Linked DNA regions of Homo sapiens: region 1 is linked to region 2. Evidence: promoter capture Hi-C in 16 types of primary human blood cells and fetal thymus (Javierre and others, 2016). All regions are on one chromosome and are shown on one strand. The core of a region is centred on a gene start or on the middle of the fragment in contact, and the rest is flanking DNA. Distances in the headings are between cores, read along the strand shown.

Region 1 (6,398 bases), core at 1,850-4,349, 1.0 Mb before region 2:
CACTATGTGGGCCAGGCTGGTCTCAAACTCCTGACCTCGTGATCCGCCCGTCTCGGCCTCCCAAAGTGCTGGGATTACAGGCATAAACCACCGCACCCGGCCAAACCTATGCTTCTTTAGAGTAAAAGTGCGCAGTGATTCTGGGGAAAAACTAGAAACATTATTTTGAACAGATGTGATGCTTTTATTTACTACTTTATGTAATCTCTTTCCAGACTTCAATTTTAACATGTAATTAGGCATTCAACCCTTCTCCATATTTTAATTTAATTGACTGCTATAGATTTATGCAATAGTAAAAACTCCTTTGAAAATATGGTAAGAAAGAATGGTTACCCACTGCCTGCAAATCCTTGGCAAGCCCTCAGAAAACCCATTTGTAGTAGACGTTTTCCTAATTTTACTCTGAAATGGTGTGCAATGATGATTAAACTATTTCTTAATGAAATTAAACAAAAAGTTTACCAAAATATATGAAATCAAGATAAACACAAGTACATTTCACAGTTTTATGTAATTTATTATTTATGTTACATAACTTATTATTTTTGAAAGATATATACAACCCATGCAATTTTCAGTATTTTTTAATATGTGTAAACCTAAGGAATAAAAACTGTAGCCAGCCTGGTGTGGTGACTCACGCCTGTAATCCCAGCACTTTGGGAGGCCGAGGCAGGCAGATCACTTGAGGTCAGTTCGAGACCAACCTGGCCAACATGGTGAAACCCCATTTCTACTAAAAATACAAAAATTAGCTGGGTGTGGTGGCATGAAACTGCAATCCCAGTTACTCAGGAGGCTTAGGTAGGAGAATAGCTTGAACCCAGGAGGTGGAGGCTGCAGTGAGCTGAGATCGGGCCACTGTACTCCAGCATGGGTGACAAAGCCAAACTCCATCTCAAACAAACAAAAAATTTGTAGCTATTCCTGGATTCTGATCTGCTACATTGTTCATCTCACAGTCAGTTTGCATGCAATGCGGTAAATACACTATGTATAATATAGTCTCTAGATGGAATTATTTACAAGCCAACTACCATTTGTTAAGCATCTATTAAATGTAAAACACTCTGAAATATCTGTTGGTGTAACTGTATGTGTGTGGGGTACGGGAGTGCATAGATTTCCTCTTCGAACATATTTTGAGCACTCACCATGTACTTGACCCTCCACTGGGTACTGAGGTGGTCAGAGCTTACATCATAGTGGAGAGAAAGATAAGCAAGAAAATTACGTACATCATGCTAGATGGAAATGAGTGCTATGGGGAAAAGTAAAGGAGGCAGGTACATATGAGTCCAGAGTGGGAGCTGTAATTCCACCTTACATGGTTAAGGATGAATTCTCTGAGAAGCTGGTGTAGAACCAAAACCAAACAAGGTGAAGGGGCCAGCCATGAGGATATCTGAAGGAAAGCCATTTCAGCCAGAGTAGCCAAGTGCCAAGACCCTGAGGCCAGAGCATGGCCCAGATACATGGAACTGCAACATGGTCTATGTGGCTAGAGCAGAGTTAGAGAGAAGGAAAGTAACAGGAATGATTTTGAGGAGAAAAGGGGAGAGTAGATAATGCAGGTCCTATAGACCATTCTAAAGACCTCGACTGTCATTTTGGATGATAGGAAAAGTCATCAGAGGTTTTAAGCAGTGAAATGACATAATATGACTCATTTTAAACAAGAAAAATAAGACAGGAGTTTCTTCTGGTTTATTTATTTATATTTTAGACATGCCTCACTCTGTCATGCAGCTGGAGTGCAGTTGCATAATCATGGTTCATTGCAGCCTCAAACTCCTGGGCTCAAGCTATCCTCCTGCCTCAGCCTCCTGAGTAGCTGGGACTCCAGGTGTGCACCACAATTCCTGGCTAAGTTTTTTATTTTTTGTAGGGAAGAGGTCCCATTATCTTGCCCAGGCTGGTCTCAAACTGGCTTGGAGCTTGGCTTCCATTTGTTTCACCTCCCAACGTGTTGGGATTAAAAGCGTGAGTCACCACACCCAGCCATGATTCACTTAAAAATTTTAAATAGACCTAGAAGAAGAAAGTGTAAAAGCAGGAGGTGATCCTTTATGCTGTTATTAATAACTCGGTTAAGAGTGGATGTTGGATTGGACCAAGGTGACAGGGGTTAGGTAAGATATGGTTGGGTTTTATAATAGATGAAGGTCTACCTTATAAGATTTGCACATGAAATAGATGTGGGTGTGAAAGAGAGAAATTAAGAACAACTCTAGGCTTTAGGGCCTGATAAACTGGAAATATGGGGTTGCCACTGACAGCAGTGAGGAAGGAAATAAATGCATCAAGGAGAAAAGTTAGGATTTTGGTTTTGAAGAGTTTGTGTTTGTGATTAGACTTCCAAGTGGAATGCAGGGTAAGCAACTGAACATTTGAACCTAGAGTTGAGAAGTCCAGTCTGAGCTAGAGTCAAGTAAAAATATAATACTTGGGAATTGTATATTTATGTAATATTTACTATCAAAGATAGGATGATATCATCAAAGGAAAGAGTAATATTTAGGGCAGAGAAACGGTCTTAGGTTTGAGGCTTTCCAATGTTTAAGAGTTTGGGTAGAAAGAGAAAATAGCAAAGGAGGCTAAGGGGGAGACCAGAATGGGGAAAGGAAAACCAGGAGAGTGTGGCATCCTGGAAGAAGGAGTTTCCAGGCAGTGGATTTGACATCAACTATGTTAAATGCTTTCGATAGATGGTCTAATATGCATATAGAGCCTTGTCCTTTGGATTTAACAATGGAGAGCTCATTGGTAATATTTTCATTAGAAATTTCATGGAGAGGAGTGGGTAAGAGTTTGACTGACGTTGCCTCAAGAGAGGATAAGAAGGGAAGAATTAAGAGGGGAGAAGTAAAAGCATGTATTTTATGTGCATGGAAATGATTCAGCGGAAAGGAAAATGATGCAACAGGATAGAGAATTGCTGAAGTCACAGCTTCGAGCCAGTTAGCAGTGCTGGAATCTCACGCACAAGTGTAGGATTTGGCATTCTTCACTCAAATTAGGAGAGATGGAGGGTTAGATAATAAGCCCAGCTGAAATTAAGTGGAAAACTGCGGAGGTGGGAGCTTTTGGAAGTTCTCTTGCGACTGCTTCTATTTTCTCAGTAAAATAGAAAGCAAGGTGGCTTCATACTCTCAAGGAGTTTAAAATACAGTGGAAGAGACAGAGGAACATACTATATCAAGGCTGAATATTATCAGAGTTAAGGCAGATATATGTGTTGTATTGAACAAACATGACTCATGGGATGTTATTATAAAACAACTTTATTTTTGTCCTCCTTTAAATTATTCTATGCGGCCAGTCTTACTTCCCACCGGATGAAACTTAGGACAAGTCACCACATTTTTTTCCAGTCATGTTCATTAATAAAAATATTGTAAGGAGCAATTAATATGTCCAGTGTAATAATCAAAACTTTATAAATATTATTCAAAGATAAAACAACTCTGCTTTACCAGTGCTGACCATTTACAAGTTGGTTGCCTTAATAAGAAAGAGGCATATTAATTGGGGTATTTTCCTTTTCTATTTTCAATCCCTTCCCTGCAACAGTTGCCATTCTGAACCCCTCTAGTGTTTGACACAGTGTGGGTAGTATAGAAGATTGAGGAAGGAGTAGGACAGTTCTTACTTAGTTAACACCATCATGAGCTGGCATTATATACTGTGGGTCTGCAAGGTTTAAAGCTGACCTTGACTTCTCTTGGGAGACTTGTAGTAGTTATGATGTGTGTGCTGCATCTTGTCCGGCTGGCTTACTGTCATCTCATACAGAAGGAAAGATAATACATGCTGACTATAACCAATCAAACTTACCTTCAAAAAATTAAAATAAGAATATTCAGAGTTGGTCAGCAAACAAGATGTAGAGAAGAAGAAAAATAAATGAGACAGAAAGAAGTGTGGAGTAGAAGCCCTGGGACAAAATAAGCCCTGAGCAACTGGTATCATGAAATGTAAAGTGAGTAAAGGGAGGTGTTGGCAGCTCAATGGAAGGACTGAAACAACAGAAGATTCAGAGTAGCTGAATCATCAAAATGATGATGCACTAGACTCTAGAGCCATATTTGTAAGGTACCATGGGTTTATAGATGTTCAGAGATGTCATTGACATCTAAGAGTAGCTTGAGTTAATCACACAGTGGGTCTAGACAATCACGGGGTTGAAGCTGAGTGCTTGGCCTCTCATTCTCCACCCAGATTGGGCTCCTCCATTATTCTGTCCATCCCTGATAAAGGCATCACCAACCAGCAGCTTCCTAACTCTAAAATCATGGACTTTAGTCTTTGTTCTTCTTTCTTCCCTCCCATGCATGCAATTCGCCAGTTTTAACTCTGCACAAGTCTCAAAGAAATCGCCTTCTTTTCTTCTTCACTACTACACTCTGTTTTAAATCACAATAATTTCCTACCCGTAGAATTATAATGATACTTCTATTTCTACTGTCACCCACTTCCAATTCATTCTCCATTTAGCAAAGTGATTCTCCTAACAGTGTAAGTTAGATGATTTTATTCATCTTTAAAAACCCTCCGAAGGCTTCCTATTGCACTTAGAATAAAATGCAGTTTCCTGGCCCTCACCACAAAGCCTTGGCTCATCTTACTCTATGACCACACTGGCCTACTTTTTCCCACTCGAACTTGCCAGGATTATCTCTGCCACTGAGCCTTTGCACACCCATTCCCATTCCCTTTACCTGGGCTGGTCTTCCTTCTAGCCTTAGCATGGCTGGATCCATCTTGACATTCAGCTGTCAACCTAAATGTCATCTCCTCAGAGATGCCTTCACATTCACCCAACTTCAAGTAACTATCCATTTGTGGTCTAGACCTCACCCATTTTAAATCTCTGGCATAGCACTGGTGATTCTTTCTGGGTGGCTTTTTTGTCAGTGCATTTGATTGTGTGTGTGTATGTGTGTGTGGTTTATTGATCTATTTTTGCTTGATAGGAAAGTCTGTCTCTATTGGAAGGCCAGAGAAGTAGGTTAAGTAAAATGTTCACATTTACAGGTTAGACAGCTGTTATTTTCTTTTTTTTAAAATTATACTTTAAGTTTTAGGGTATATGTGCACAATGTGCAGGTTTGTTACATATGTATACATGTGCCATGTTGGTGTGCTGTACAGCTGTTATTTTCACTTAGTCTCTAAGTTTTGATTTTTTGACCCAGCAGAAAATTTGTTCTCAAAATCCCTTCCTAGGGGTAAGAGTATAATTAGTCTGAAAACTATTTGTCTTAATGACAAACTGACACCAGTTAAGATAAAAAAACTTGAGAGACATTTTCAACAAATTTATGTCTCTTTTGCTTAAAAAAAATCTATCCTGACACATATTCAATATTGGCACAGTCACTATTCCTTGCATTCATTTATTTATTGGATTTATGAAGAGCTTTCTCCTCCACTAACTCAATTTAATTTTATTCAGCTTTGTGGTTGTCATAGTTCATATTTGTCTATGTGAAGGTATCAAATCTGGCCAGGTTTGATTGGGTAAGAACATAATTCTCTGTTTTCCCTACTCATACCAATATTAATAACTGAAAGATAAGAATTAATGTATTTCCAAACAATTCTGAACTCATATTCAAAGACATTTACATTCTAATTGGTTAATGGTTCCAAACAGCAGTGTCCCAAAGTGGGTTTGGATTATAAACTTAAAGTATTTAGGCCCCTGATTTGCATTCTGTTCTTTTTCCTTTCTATTAAATCTGCTTATAATAGCAAATGTCATTGCTACACACACCTGTGAACAAAAATCTGCAAAGCTAAAATGCAAGAGTTGCTATTTGGTAATTTACTTCTTTTCTGTAGTTAAACGTTATATTATATATTCTCTAAAGGGAAGTGATGATATTTGATTTTATGGTCTAAACAGATGAACCAGAGGCAGCCCATTCCCAGCTTTCCATGGTGTAAGTGAGCAGGACTGAAACTCCAAAAGTTCCCATTTACAGGTGGGAGGATGAGAAGTGCTGAGAGAGCCAATGAAAAGGCAGAGGTCTCAGTGAGAATGAGGAGACAGAGTGTGTGGCAACTTCATAATAGCAAGCAAATGGCTGGAGCCATGGGCTCTGACACTAGGGGCCAGCAGATGAGAGGGCCAACCTGCTCAGAAGCCATGGGCTAACATCATGGGGTCACTCTGCAGCAGAGGCCAGAGAGGATAGTGATGATAATCATGGGTTTCTACTTCCCAGGGATGGTGGCTTCTCAGAAAACATGTCAGAATTTATGAAAGTGTGGCTGTATCATTAATGGAGAGATGGTGGTGATGTTTGTGAGCACTCCATTTCTGGGGACAGGTGACATGGTCTTGAATGAGAAATGGTCCCTCCTGTCATGTATATCTCAAGTCAGCT
Region 2 (6,280 bases), core at 303-2,802:
GAAATTTTCAAGAATGAGACAGATGGGTGAAGTTTTCAAAGGTTTCTAAAAGGGAAAAACAAGAAGACTAGGATATTCCAAGCAGAAAGGTCTGGTTGGTTGGCCCCAGTTGGTGTTCGCATATAAGAAGAGGGCTTGGCATTTTCCTCACCACTGAAGAAGGATCAGCCCCTGGTTTGGTCCAGTAAGAATATGTTCTTGCCCAAATGCCACTCCTTAGTTTCAGGGACATTGCTATTTTGGTTTTCTGTTCCAGCCCAAGTGTTCTTGATGGTCGAATTGTTTGCATTGACTTTTTTTCCACAAGAAGTTGGGTGATATTGCTGATTTGCCTGCCATGGCACTTCCTTGTTTTCATTTTGATTATTACTCAAAAATAGCTTCATTTTAAAATTCAACTTTTCTGACTCTCTGCTTGTGCCTTTAACACATTGACAATGATTTTCTGCTTCTCCACAAAGAAAGCACGTTGGATCCTGTCACAGACATATTTAGCAGACATGGAACCACCATAAGCCCTGCTTGGCATGTGTGTTTCATTTCAGACTACCTCATGAGAACTTTAGGTCTTAAAGCATCGGCCTCTCTCTCCAAGTCAGCCTGAACACAAGCCACAAGAGATTTCAGTTCTTTCTCGACCTTTTTGGTGTAAATGTAAACAATTCTATCACCAGGGGTTCAGGGCAGCCTAGTTTTGTTAGAGGCTGTATTGTAGGAAAGTCCAAGGTTGCAGGATCATTCTGAGTCCCTTAGACACCATTCTCAGAAGAGCTTGCTATTAGCTTAATGCTGCCCAACTACTACGTATGCTTCACGAGGGCAGGGACTTTTGTCTGTTTTCACTGCTACGGCTCCAACCTCTAAACAGTGCCCGACATAGTAGGCATTCAGTAAATATAGTACTTGTTAAATGGATGTTATTTTGGCTGCCTTTACTTTTGCTTTATTTGTCCTGCTTTACGGAGCTGGAAATTGGAGGAAAGCCTTTGAATTCATTTCCCTTCTTCCTTCTGTTCTGAAACTCTGGCCAAGGGTCCTAGCAAAGACCTTAGGGAGTGGGGAGCCCTCCTGGAAACTAATGACAAGTCAGGCGACAGGGGGCGGGAGAAGGAGAGCTGCAGGAAGTTCTTTCCCACTTACTTCTGCAGCACCCTTCACCACCCATCGTGCTCTGTATTTGGGGTTAGAGGTGTTCCGTGGAAGGGAAAGCAGGGGCCGCCTTGGCCGCGTTCCTCTCCTGGGCCACCGGGGTCTTGCCCACAGCGAGTCCCGCAGCACCCCCTGTCTGCGCAGCACCTGTTGACAGCCAGTGGGCGGCCAAGCCCGCTCGCGCGGACGCGTCCCAGGGCTGCCCCTCCCAGAGGCGCTGACCCCCGCCCGCCCCATCGGCCGCCTGCGGGAGAGCCGCTGAGCCGCCCCCGCTCGCCAGGCGCGCGCTCCGCCCGGGCTCGGCCCACGGCCCCCACCTCCTGTCTGCCGCCCGGCGGGGGGAAGGTAGAGAAGGGGAGGGGACAAGCCGGATCCTCCCGGCCGCCCCGGCCTTCCCTCTTCACCCCGTGCGGAGACGCCGCGCGTAGCCCCGAGGTTAGCGCGGAGCCCGAGGCGTGGGGGGAGGGGACGGGGAACAACCGGAGCCCCGCGGTGACCCCGAGCGGCCGAATTGCCCCAGGCTTTGAGGAGCGGGGGACGAGCCCGAACAAGGTGAACTTTGGTCGCGGAAAACTCAAGCCAGGTGCCGGAATCCGTGCTGCGGCGCTCCGAACCCGGGGCCAACTGCGCTCCGGGCTGAGGAGCGGGAGCCCCGCGGCCTCTCTCCGCCTGCGCCCGGGCCGCCGTCGGCCCGGAGCCCCCCGGCCCCGCTCCGGCGCCCCGGCCCGTGGGACCCGCCGCGGCGCCCTCGCCTTGTTTCTTCCCCCTCCCCCTTCGGGGGTGGGGGGTGGGGCGGGGGAGAGGGGCGCCCGGAGAGCCGCATCTATTGGCAGCTTTGTTATTGATCAGAAACTGCTCGCCGCCGACTTGGCTTCCAGTCTGGCTGCGGGCAACCCTTGAGTTTTCGCCTCTGTCCTGTCCCCCGAACTGACAGGTGCTCCCAGCAACTTGCTGGGGACTTCTCGCCGCTCCCCCGCGTCCCCACCCCCTCATTCCTCCCTCGCCTTCACCCCCACCCCCACCACTTCGCCACAGCTCAGGATTTGTTTAAACCTTGGGAAACTGGTTCAGGTCCAGGTTTTGCTTTGATCCTTTTCAAAAACTGGAGACACAGAAGAGGGCTCTAGGAAAAAGTTTTGGATGGGATTATGTGGAAACTACCCTGCGATTCTCTGCTGCCAGAGCAGGCTCGGCGCTTCCACCCCAGTGCAGCCTTCCCCTGGCGGTGGTGAAAGAGACTCGGGAGTCGCTGCTTCCAAAGTGCCCGCCGTGAGTGAGCTCTCACCCCAGTCAGCCAAATGAGCCTCTTCGGGCTTCTCCTGCTGACATCTGCCCTGGCCGGCCAGAGACAGGGGACTCAGGCGGAATCCAACCTGAGTAGTAAATTCCAGTTTTCCAGCAACAAGGAACAGAACGGTGAGTCTTTCCCCCATTCTCCCCCTGCTTGTTTCTCGCTGTGTGTGTTAACGTTGGCATTGTGCGTTGGTATGTGATATATACCAGACTGTGAAGGTATCTTTGGTCTCTCATTACATGCAAATGTGCGCTGCGTTCATTGGCATGGACTGTTAAAGGTTAAGTGTAGTTTGCAACTTCGGGAGCTGCCACAAAGCTCCAAGAGGGCAACGTGAGTGCCACTGCTGAGTGAGGACATTCTGGGAGCGATTGTGAACGTCATTTCAAATGCACATTGCAGGTTCGCTCATTGCTAAAGTTAGAAGTTCAAGAACTGCCTCTAAAAACGAATCCAAAATGAATGAGCCTTGGCATGTTTGACTTTACTCAGATTTGGGGAGGGCGAGGGGGGTCGGTCAGGAAATATATCAGCCGCATTAATTGAAGCACTCTAGGTCGAAGTCATCAATTAATCAATGAGTAGATAGGAAATATAGAGGTCAAGAGGCTGTGTGGTCGTTTTTAGAGGAATTAAAAAGTGTATTTCTCTTGCTCCCTAGTTTTTGTTTTTTAAACTTGCCTTTGTACTCTGAAGTCCTTACCTTTCTGGTGGTGTGTTTTTGTATGTGTTGGTGAATGACTGCTATTTTGTGTGTGCTGGAAACGACTTAATCCTGCATAGGAAATGAGAATTACTTTCAGCTTTCAAGTGTACCTGAAATGTTTAGAAAACTCTCAGATGCAAGTTCCCTTGGGCTGGGATTGCACAGAGCTGGAGAAAGGCTCCTTTCATAAAGCCAGGGCAGCTTCAGGGTGTGTAATTTGCTTAGCCTCTGAACCCATATGATTTACATCATTCAATTTCTAAACTCTTTTTCTCTTCATCTACCATTATGAAGTCATTTTTGAGAATACTTTGTAAATAGAAATTTTATACTGCACATGAAACCACAATGTTCATGTTAGGCTGTCTAAAATTGGAATATTTAACGCCCTGTTTACAAATGGTGGCTCTTACTGTAATTTGAAAAGGAATATACATGTTTTTACTGCTTTGTATATCATCTATTCAGAATGCAAGGATTCTGTCACTTGATTAACCATGCAAAATGAACACAAGTGGCATACCTACAAAATTAAGATAGGATGTGCTATAGTTTTAAGTCAGAGTGATTTTTTTTCCTTTTCATATTGGGGTGTTTCAAGACTTCAACTTTGAATTTAAACTCTATGAAGTGTTCATGTTTAAGAAAGCACAGAAAGTTTTAGGGTATAAAAGTAGATAAAATAAGGATTCTGCCGACTTTTGCAAACGTTATTTGTATTTGCTGTTGCGCAGCAAGACATAGTATCACATTTATCAGCTAATATTAGTGTGGTGCTTCTTACAACTTGCTAATGTGATGCCACATGGCACCTGCAGGCTCCTTGAGCTGCTGATCAAAGGGCAGCCTAGGGATGTATCTCTAATCACAGTAGCTGCAGAGGTCTGGGGGAAAGTGATCAAAGGAGCCACAGCACCAGCTGTACCCGTGCAGGAAACACATCAGACCAACCTTTGTTCTTTCTCATGTAAAATAAATGTCCAGTTCAAAATATTGCTTCTTACTAGCCAAGCTCCTCCATAATGACAACAATGCACAATATTCCTGGCTTCCTGGCTTCTGTTTTTTATTGTTCCTGTCCCATATCATTTCTCCTATTGCCTTGTCTTATCAAGCCTCTCTTGGCATCTGCCCGAATCTCTTTGCTGACCTGTGCTTCTCTTTGTCCTTTCCTTTTAGTTCTCTCTTGTGATCCCCATGCTATCATCACTTTGTAAGGGTCCCAGAGCTGTCATGCAGCATGTGGTCATAGGCCACTTTACCCAAGTAGATTCACACCTCCAGGAGAGATGAGTTCATTAAGCCAGGCCACACACATTCTGTTGCCATCTGAGGCTGGGCCATTTCCATTCCTAAGATGCATGATGCTAAAAATTGCTGCTTGTTTCCTAATCTGTGGGTAGAGGATTAGGCTATGTTTGGGGGTTGGTCTATGTTAAGGATGGCAGCAGGAAGTAACTAGAAGTAGAGGAACTACTTGTAGTTTTTAGCCCAAGGAGAAGTGGCACTGGCCAGCACTAGGGGGCAATATAGAGCTATTTTCTTGCACATGCTCAGGTTGATTTTTATACGTAAATGTTTCAAGATTTGAGGGTAACAGGTGGGTGCTGAAGAAGATTCCCCTGGAATGTAACCAGATTTGTTAGAGCTACTACCATTACCGTTACTACTACTACTTCTACTTCTTCTTCTTTTTGTCTTTCAAATTTTCCATTATGTGGGTAATCTTTTGCCCACATACTGAATTATGATTGAATTTTGATTGCCCTGTTGCTGTCTCAATTTTGACAGTTGTACAGTCCTGTAAATACGAACCCTCCTTGAGGATACCACGTAGAAGATCCCATTGGCCCAGTTTGTGCATTGCATCGTTTTGTGACAGGTCTTCTCTAACTCTGAAATGTCCAAATTGATATATTATGACTGTAGCAGCTCATTCTTGTCTCCAAGGACCCCTCCTCATGATACTCTCTTTTCTTGAGTATTCTAAAGTCCCTAATGGTGATTACTCAATCAGGTACCTCGGGCTGCTCAGTTTTAATATTAACTTGGTATTTCAAGAGGAGGTAGAATTGGAAATTGATTGCTGTAGCCAATGCTGCATACATGGATTTAGACTGGATCATGTGGACATGGTTCAGAATTAGCTTTGAAGGGTTAGTGTCATTTACACTATTGTTAGGTATCTGGTTTTTGACCTACCATTGGATTGCAATTCTTGCCACTTTTACTGTACAAAGTTTTATCCTCTAATATTATAAGTTGACTTCATATACTATACTTAATTTTTAACCTTACTTCTGACCCTGTCTCACTTATGAAAACAAGAGTCTTCAGATTTAACTTGAGGAAAGAGATTAAAAGATAACATTGACTTGCTTGGAGGGTGTCTGGCCTGTATACTTGTTGTATGACCATGGTGAAAAATACTCATATTTTGTGCACACTGGTTTTAGATGAGAATGCCTATTGTGGAATGATTAAGTTCTGGGACGGTGCTTCTGAGTTGTAGCAGAAAGAATCATACACCCAGGAACAAAACAAAACCTACTTTGTCTGTTGCATACAGCACAAAGAGATGTCAATGACAAAGTTGTTGGTGGAGGAATGCCTCTTCTACCTGTGTTGTTGGTGAGTGATTTTTAGTTTACTCATAGATTAAGAGCATGCGTATCATTTTTTTCTCATTTTCTTTAGCCATTCTGAATTTTGATTTGGAATATGCCGCTCTTCGCTACGGTTGGTCTTATTAACATCAGTTATTGTATGTGTTCTTTTTCTCAAGGGCTTTTGTGGCATGTGGGGCAATTTACTTTGGTCTGCTGGTCGTGCCCTTTTGCCGGTATCTTGTGTTTATGGATTTTCCATCTCTTTTTATCAGTGCCAGCTTTCTCTTCCTACTGTCAATGCTCCTGTATCTAACAAAATTTAAATTAAAAATGGAAAATTAAAAAAGGTGCCCAGTCCCCTCGCCATCATTTTTAGGTGGCAGCTTCAAATCTCTGTTTTATCAAAAACAGATAACCACAATATTTAGAACAGTGTCCAAGAGTAAATAGGCTCTAACTGCAGACTAAAGGGACTTTCCTGTAAGTTTCCCTGTAAGTTTTATTGCGTGACCTTTTTGACAT

The links. Contacts are between HindIII fragments. The CHiCAGO score rates a contact against its expected background, and 5 or more counts as called.
Region 1: a fragment that was not itself captured here is called in contact with the fragment with the promoter of PDGFC in region 2 in 1 of 17 cell types (M0 macrophages); the score reaches 5.4 in M0 macrophages.

The regions. Positions count from the first base shown.
Region 1 is chr4:157,980,060-157,986,457 of GRCh38, reverse strand. The region is part of intron 2 of LOC105377509 (a long non-coding RNA gene); the gene reads left to right. Among named protein-coding and RNA genes, the nearest start is that of GASK1B-AS1, 190 kb to the left of the region's middle. The HindIII fragment of the contact is 8,793 bases long and covers 1-6,398 here.
Region 2 is chr4:156,967,071-156,973,350 of GRCh38, reverse strand. It overlaps PDGFC (platelet derived growth factor C), which reads left to right and starts at 1,552. Exons shown (of 6, transcript NM_016205.3): 1 at 1,552-2,565. The coding sequence starts at 2,448. RefSeq lists an enhancer at 1,265-1,765. The HindIII fragment of the contact is 8,294 bases long and covers 1-6,280 here.